2 separate regions of the Homo sapiens genome follow, and region 1 is linked to region 2. The links are contacts of gene promoters, found by promoter capture Hi-C in blood cells and fetal thymus (Javierre and others, 2016). All regions are on one chromosome and are shown on one strand. The core of a region is centred on a gene start or on the middle of the fragment in contact, and the rest is flanking DNA. Distances in the headings are between cores, read along the strand shown. Region 1 overlaps PHF2 (PHD finger protein 2). Region 2 holds the start of SUSD3 (sushi domain containing 3).

Region 1 (3,583 bases), core at 285-2,784, 520 kb after region 2:
TCCAACTGGAGGATGGAGACCAGGCCCCATGCCCTCCACTCCTGCCTGCAAAGTGAGCTGGCATCTCACTTTGTCACCAACTTACTTTGAATAATTTAAATCTCTGGGAAGCAGGAATGCTTCTGTTAAAGTTTTAAACATCCTTAACATGTAGCTTTCTGGCCCTCTTTCAGCTGCTTGTTCTATTGGACTGGAAGGGTTTTTGGAGGTGTAATCAGTAAAACTGACTTGAAAGAAATTGAAAGCTGTTCAGGTCACTTAAGTGACAGACATTTCATTCATACCTCAGTAAATATTTGTTGGGCTTGTATTCTGTACGGAGTTCAGAGCTGGCTGTGAGGGCCCAGGGGTTAGCCAGGCAGCTTCTCAGATTGGTGGCAGCCACCCTGGAGGGGGAGTGTCTCAGCAGAGGAGGGGCGAGAGTGGACTGAGGTTTTGACTGTCCCCCGTGTTGCATGTTGCTGTGGGGAGAGGTTGGGAGAAGGTTAGGGGCAGGGAGCCAGTGAGGAGGTGACTGTCACCCTGCCTGTGTACCCAGGGGGTGGGGAGTGAGGACTGGGGTCGGTAGAAGGGTCACATTCTGGAAGTGCTCAGAAGGTAGAGTGGACAAGACTTGCCTGGCATGGCTCCCTCCAATTCCTCTGTGTCCGTCTGTCTGTCTGGGCTCAGCCTGCCCTCCTCCTCAGGGCCCTGTCTCTGTGTCCACCTCCCTAGGGATGGAGTTGGCCTTTCTGGGCTCTCATTGTGCCCACCTAGTCTTAAGCTTCTTGAGGCAGAGCCATGTTCAGGGGCTACCTGGGAACACCAGGCGGGGCTGTGGCCTCGCGCTGCAGGCCAGCTCTGTTGTTGGCCAGTGGAGTGTGTGTGCGAGAGGGAAGGAGGTCCTGCCGTGGGTCAAATCTGGGTGATCAGAACTGACAGTTAAATCCTAGAACCTCAAATGCCGGGGAGTACTGGGGGAAGGGGCTCTCCTCATGGAGATGTTGTTGTGATGTGTTTAGGAATAAATCATTTTAAAACAAGGAATTCTCCCCCTGTGTGAGTTTTGAAAGTTCTGGAGGAGGTGGGAAGAATGTCAGGCCAGCTTCTAGAGGGTAAAGTAGACATCCCTCTCTGTCGATGCTTTCCAAAGGAGGTGTGTCTTGAAGGAAGCAAGGAGCTTCATCTTAATTGTCAGAACGTTTGCTATTATTGAATATACTTAATATTTGACTGGAAGTGTGCTTGATCTGAACTTCTGGACTGCAGCCCACGTTTGTTTGGGGCTGCTTGGGTGAAATGTGGCCACAGATGCCCTAAAATCTGGGCAGAGATTTGGGTGGACGCTGCCACCCCCAGGCATCCTCTTTTATGGCTGTCCCTGTAGTGCCTCGACATGTGCCAGGTCCTTCTAAAAGAGTGAGTTTTTCTGGTGGGAGCAAGTGTGGGCCAGAAAATAGTGTTCCGTGACACAGTTCTCTGGGAGAATCTCACTTTTGAAATTCAGGGTGTGGGTAAAACAAAGTCCATCTCTTGGTTTTTTTAAATAACAGATGGGCCTGATTGTGCTGCGGAAGCTAACATTCAGTCGGGGTTTAATGCCATAGGGGTTTTTCATTCATCATGTTTGGTTCCCACGTCGACTGCGAGGGGCAGATAGTGTGGGTCACCCTGTCACCTTCATTCCCAGCATGGACACAGAAGCAGCTAGGGCCTCTGTCACACACAGGTCTCTGGCTTCATCAGGTGCACTCTGAGCTGCAGCAGGTGGACACACTCACCTCCCAGAGGGTGCAGGTGAGGAGGTGGCACCTGGCTTAGGTTATTCTGGCTCAAGGGCCTGAGCAAATACCGGGGCTGATAACTGCTCGTGTCCATGGTTTCAGCAGTGTAACACGGACGGAAATGTAGTCACAGAGGAAGGCCACATACTGAGCTAGGGGATGGGAGGTGCTTCCCTGTCCAAGCAGCTGACTGCAGCAGCTCCCTCCTGGGTCTGAATATACCCAGTGTCTCTCAGGGTCTCTCGCTGTAGTGCCTCCCTCTCTGCATCTCTCCTTCTCTGTCCCCTAACTTCTGCCAACCTTGATTCTCAGCTTTTTGGCTCTGTGGCAGGTAGGTGGCCCTAGCTGTGAGGTCCAGAATGGGACTTGGCTTCTATGCTTTAGGGTACAGGACCTGTTTACTTTTCTCCTGGACCCCCCCGCCACCATAGTGCTGGGTCACTCACAGAAGAACATATGAACATATTTAGAATTCTAGCCAGTGGTTTGGATCTCAAAGCATAGGAACTGAAAAATCTTTGTGGTATCTGTCCCTGTCTATCAAAGCTTTCCAAAGGAGGCGTGTCTTGAAGGAAGCAATTTGGTGTGAGCCTCATCTTAATTGCCAGAATGTTTGCTTTTATTGAAAATATTTAGCTAGAAATGTGCACATGGGGAAACGAGCCTTTTACCTTTTTTAAAAATTGAGGTGAAATTCATATAAAATTAACCATTTGAAAGTGTGAAGTTGAGTGGCATTTAGTGTCTTCATAGTGTTGAGCAACCACCACCTTTATCTAGTTCCCAAACATCTTCCTCACTCCTAAAGTAAACCCGGTATCCAATAAGTAGTCACTGCCCTTTCTTCCTCCCACTAGCCCCTGACAACTAGCAGTCTGCTTTCTGTCTCTATAGGTGTGTCTATTCTGGATATTTACTATTTCATACGAATAGAATCATACAATATGTAACTTTTTGTGTCTGACTTCTTTCACTTAGCACAATATTTTTGAGGTTCATCCACATTGTATCATGTGTCTGTGTTTCATTGATTTTTATGGCTGAATAATATTTCATTGTGTGGATAGACCACAGTTTATCCATTCATCAGTGTATGGGCATCTGGGTTCTTTCCACCTATGGCTGTTGTATATGGTGCTGCTATAAACATTTGTGTATAAATATTTGTTTGAACACCTGTTTTCAGTTCTTTTGGATATATACTTGGGAATGGAATTGCCGGATCATATGGTAACTCTATGTTTAACTTTTTGAGTAACTGGCAAACTGTTTTCCACAGGGGCTACATTATTTTAAATTCTCCTCAGCAACGTTCCAATTTCTCCACATCCTCACCAACACTTGTTTTCCTAATTTTTTTTTTTAAATTAAAGCTATTCTAGTGGGTATAAAGTGGGATTTCCTTATGTTTTTGGCTAGCATTTCTCTACTGACCAATGATGTTGAACAGCTTTCACATGCTTGTTGGCCATTGGTATATCTTCTTTGGACAAATGTCTACTCAAGGCCTTTGCCCACTTTTACATTGGATTGCTTGTCTTTTTATTGCTGAAGTGTAAGAGTTCTTTATATAGTCTAGATACTGTATCCTTTTTTTTCTTTTCTTTTTTTTTTTTTTTTTTTGAGACGGAGTTTTGCCCTTGTTGCCCAGGCTGCAGTACAATGGCGTGATCTCAGCTCACCACAACCTCTGCCTCCCTGGTTCAAGTGATTCTCCTGTCTCAGCCTCCTGAGTAGCTGGGATTACAGGCATGCACCACCACGCCTGGCTAATTTTGCATTTTTAGTAGAGATGGAGTTTCTCCATGTTGGTCAGGCTG
Region 2 (3,926 bases), core at 649-3,148:
GGTCTTTACAGACTCTTTATAGGGTCTTAAGTTAAGATGAGGACATTACGGTGGGCTCTAATCTAATATGACTGGTGTCCTTAGAAGAGAGATTTGAACACAGAGAGACACAGGGAGAGCACCATGTGTAGACAGGAGTTAAGTTGCCACCGGCCAAGGAACTGCCAGAAGCTGGATGATACAAGGAAGGCTGTTCTCCTGGAGTTTTTGGAGGGACTGCAGGCCTGCCGACACCCTGATCTCAGACTTCTGGCCTCCTGAACCATAAGACAATAAATTTCTGTTGTTCTCAGGCACCCAGTCTGGGGTACTATGTTACACAGCTCTAGGAAACACACTTCCTAAATGGCCAGGTGTTTAGCATTTGAAGGCTCCTGAAGGCCTGGGTCACAGCGTGGTGGCTTAGGGAGCTGCAGGCAGCCTGGTGTTTTCCATCCCCACCTAGCTCCACCCAGCTATTGGAGGGCTGCCCCAGACCTCCCTCCCAGCCCTGTCCATGCACCTACAGGCAGTGGCCTTCTGCCTGGTGGTGCATGGTGGGCAAAACCAGGGAAGGGACCACACAGGCCTGAGAGGTGGGCTAGGGGCCACTTGGCAAGACATTCTGGGGTCCCAGAGTGTGGTCTGGAGTGGGCACTGCTGATGGCCCTGCCCTTCCCGACATGGCAGAAAGAATACACATGCTTGATTTTGAATAAAGGAGATTGAAGTAAGCCATCGTGTGTGACCCACAAGTCCAAGTGGGAAGAACATATCAGGGGTGACGCCAACCCTGATGGCGAAAGGGGGAGGGCCCCTCACGTTTCACACTGAACCTCAGCTTTGGAGGGCTCGGAAAGCAGAGACGGGGAGGGGCTGCCCTGCTGGAACCCTGCTTCATGGTCCACCTGAACATCCACACTCTTCACGGTCACCTGCCAGGCACTCTAGAGCCAGCCTGGCCCACCTGGGCCACCTTCTGCGCTCCTGGAGGCATGCCTAAGCCAGCCGCACTGGGCTTCTGCTGCCACACATTGCCAAACCAGGGCCTTTGCACCTGCTGTTCCCTCTGCCAGGATTGCCTTTGCCAGCTCCACAGGAATAGGCATGGCTCAGGTGGTCTCCCACAAGCAGCCCAAGATCCAGGATGTCTGAGGCCTGACACCACACCCAACCCTTTGGTGGCTGCCTGGGCAGGGGGCTAAGCCTGGGTTGGGTGGGGTCAGAGGGAGAGAAAGAGCCCGGATCACAGCTCTGGGCCTGCTGCAAGTGGAGCTGGGTGGGAAGGGGAAGCCAGGAGAAGGGAGGCCTCCAGGTGTGGTGGGCCCTGCAGACAGACCCCAGGGCTTTCCATCCTGTTTCCCCCAGCCGGGGGCCCCTCAGTGAGAACCGAAGACAACAAGGGCACCCAGACCTCAGTGTGCCTCAGACGGCCTGGCCCAGTGAGAGACAGGGAAAGAAGGCTGGGTCCACACAGGACTCTGGGGGTGAGTGGGTTACGGGAGGGGCGGGCCGGGGAGGCGTTTTGCTGTTTGCCCTTTGGTACCGGCCGAATCCGGCACCCTGAGAAGGCAAAATCCTGCTCAAAAAATAAAAACACAGAAGCACATGGAAAAACCACACTAGGAGTGAAGGTGAGAACAGGAAGGGATGGGGGAAGGGTGTTGGGCAGAGGTAGCCACGCGTGCAACGCCCCGGAGTAGCAACACTTTCCGCTCAGCCGGCTGCCTTGGCCCGCTGGGTATTTGGTCTCCCCAAGGGCCCCCGCCCACAGCCCCCGGCCGGACCTCGGCCCCAGTCCAACGTGTGGGCGTGGTCTGTAAGTTGCATGGAACCGCCCCTGGGCGGGCGTGGAGGGCGGGGCCTCCCCGCCCCTCACCCAGGCCCAGGCCCAGGCCCCGCCCCCACAAGCCGGGCTCACTCCCCTGGCAGACCCCGCCAAGCGCCTCGGAGCGCGCAGGATGCGCTGGGCGGCCGCCACCCTCCGTGGCAAGGCGAGGCCCCGGGGGCGGGCCGGGGTCACCACGCCTGCCCCAGGGAACCGCACAGGTGAGGGCTGGGGCCGAGTGGCCGCGTGCGGGGCTCTGCGCCCATTTCACAGACGGGAAAGCCGAGGGGAGGGGGTCGCGGGGCCGCACAGCCGTGGGTGGGGGCCACAGCAACGATCTGCCCCGAGGACGAACCTCCTCGACCCTCCGCCGGCCCAGCAGGCGCCCTAGCGGAGCCGAAGCCTGGCAGCGAGCAGTTCGAAACCAGGCGGCTGCACGCAGCAGCCCGCGCGCCCGTTCCCGAGTGGCCGCAGCGCCTTGGTCCCGGGCGTCTGCGGACAGCGCGGCCGGCCAAGCCTCTCCACGCCGCAGGCTCCGGGCCCCTCCGCGCCCCTCCCGGGGAAGTCGAAACCGGCCTCACCTGGCGGGCGGGTGGCGCGGGGGCGGGAGGGGGGAGCCGGGAGCCCTCTCTGCGCCTGAGGGAGGTGTCATCTTCACGATTCCTTGGTGACCAGCGCAGCTCCACTTTACAGATGGAGAAACTGAGCCTGCGAGAGGGGAGTGGCTGTCCGAGGTCACCCTGTAGCCAGGCTTGGGATCGCCTCGGCTGTCTCGGAGGAGGCTCAGAGGCCTTTGGAAGGAAGAGAAGCTGCTTTTTATTTTACTTTTAAGTGTTTGAATTCAAGAATGTGCTTAAAGAGTTGTCTGCTCCCGTGCCCAAGGCTCCGGGGTTCGAATGCTGGCCTTGCTCCTTGAATGATTCTAAAGTCTAACCCTTTTAGAAACGGAACCAAACCGGAACTCTGGGTCTCAGATATCCCAAAAGCTTACTTCCGCGGCCACTGCCCACGAACGTTAGGCCTGAGGGTTCTGGGCGTCTCAGGCGTTGCGGGGCTAAGGCTCTGCGCAGGAGGAAGCTGAGGCCCGGAGTGGGGTGGGCTGGACCAGGTCACACTGTCAGCCTGCAGCCCCAGGGAACTGGCAGGAAGGTGGCAGGAGAATGGCTTCCTCTCACAGTTGGGGAAACTGCGGCTCAGGGAGCTAATTCACCGAGCAGAGGTCCGCAGCTCAGCAAAGTGGGCGCTGAGACTTGTTCCTGGCGCTGGTGGATTTGGTTTATTTAGTTTGACTCTGGCAGCCTAATGTCCAGAGTCCCTAATTTGGTGTTGGGGTGATGAGCACTTTTGCTCCTGTGTTTGAGCAAGGCCTGCCCAGGGCCTGGTACTACCTGAGGAGCCCCTTCTACTGGCACAACAGCCTGGGGGCGTGGGTGCCAGTGCCCTTTGGATAGCCTTGACTTGCCCAAGGTCAGCCCAAGGCCAGGGAGTATCTGGAGGCTCTGGCATATTTGCATACAAAAGGCTGTTTGCCTTGGAATTTGTGCTGGGAATGGAGCTTAGTCTGGCACCCTGTGCTCTTGTTCATCCTGCCTGGCCCTGGCTCTGCCTCTGACCACCATGACCACTTCCCAGGCACTGGCCCCCTTGTTGGAGTTTTGGGTTAGGATCCCCCCTGTGACCTGGGGTGAGTCGCTGTACCTCTGTGCCTCAGTTTCCCCATGTGCCCCAGTTTCCCCACTGTATACCTGCCCCCAAGCTTGTGGACAGGCCCAGTGGAGCCCAGGGAGGGTACTTGTTCTGGTGCAGGGATGATGCCATCATCTGGACTCCATCACTCCCCTGCCATGTGACCTCAGTTTCTTGCTCTGTGAAATGTGCTGTGAAGTTAGAGGCTGGGGGGTTGGGAGCCTTTGGAGAGGATTTGACACTAAAACACCACTGACCAGGAGTGGTGGCTCATGCCTCTAATCCCACACTTTGGGAGGCTGAGGTGGGCGGATTGCTTGAGTCCAGGAGCTCGAAACCAACCTGGGTAACATAGCAAGACCCCGTATCTACAAAAAATGCAAAAAAAAAATTAGCTGAGCATGGTGGCATGCGCCTGTAGTCCCAGCTATTC

Evidence for each region. The method cuts DNA at HindIII sites, captures the fragments that hold promoters and counts their contacts. A CHiCAGO score of 5 or more calls a contact.
Region 1: a fragment that was not itself captured here is called in contact with the fragment with the promoter of SUSD3 in region 2 in 1 of 17 cell types (fetal thymus); the score reaches 7.0 in fetal thymus.

What each region holds. Positions count from the first base shown.
Region 1 is chr9:93,580,460-93,584,042 of GRCh38, forward strand. All of the region lies in intron 1 of PHF2 (PHD finger protein 2), which reads left to right. Among named protein-coding and RNA genes, the nearest start is that of PHF2, 5.7 kb to the left of the region's middle. The HindIII fragment of the contact is 1,546 bases long and covers 762-2,307 here.
Region 2 is chr9:93,056,803-93,060,728 of GRCh38, forward strand. It overlaps SUSD3 (sushi domain containing 3), which reads left to right and starts at 1,899. Exons shown (of 5, transcript NM_145006.4): 1 at 1,899-2,028. The coding sequence starts at 1,941. RefSeq lists silencers at 1,614-2,063, 2,074-2,483 and enhancers at 1,994-2,974, 2,975-3,926. The HindIII fragment of the contact is 6,174 bases long and covers 1-2,791 here.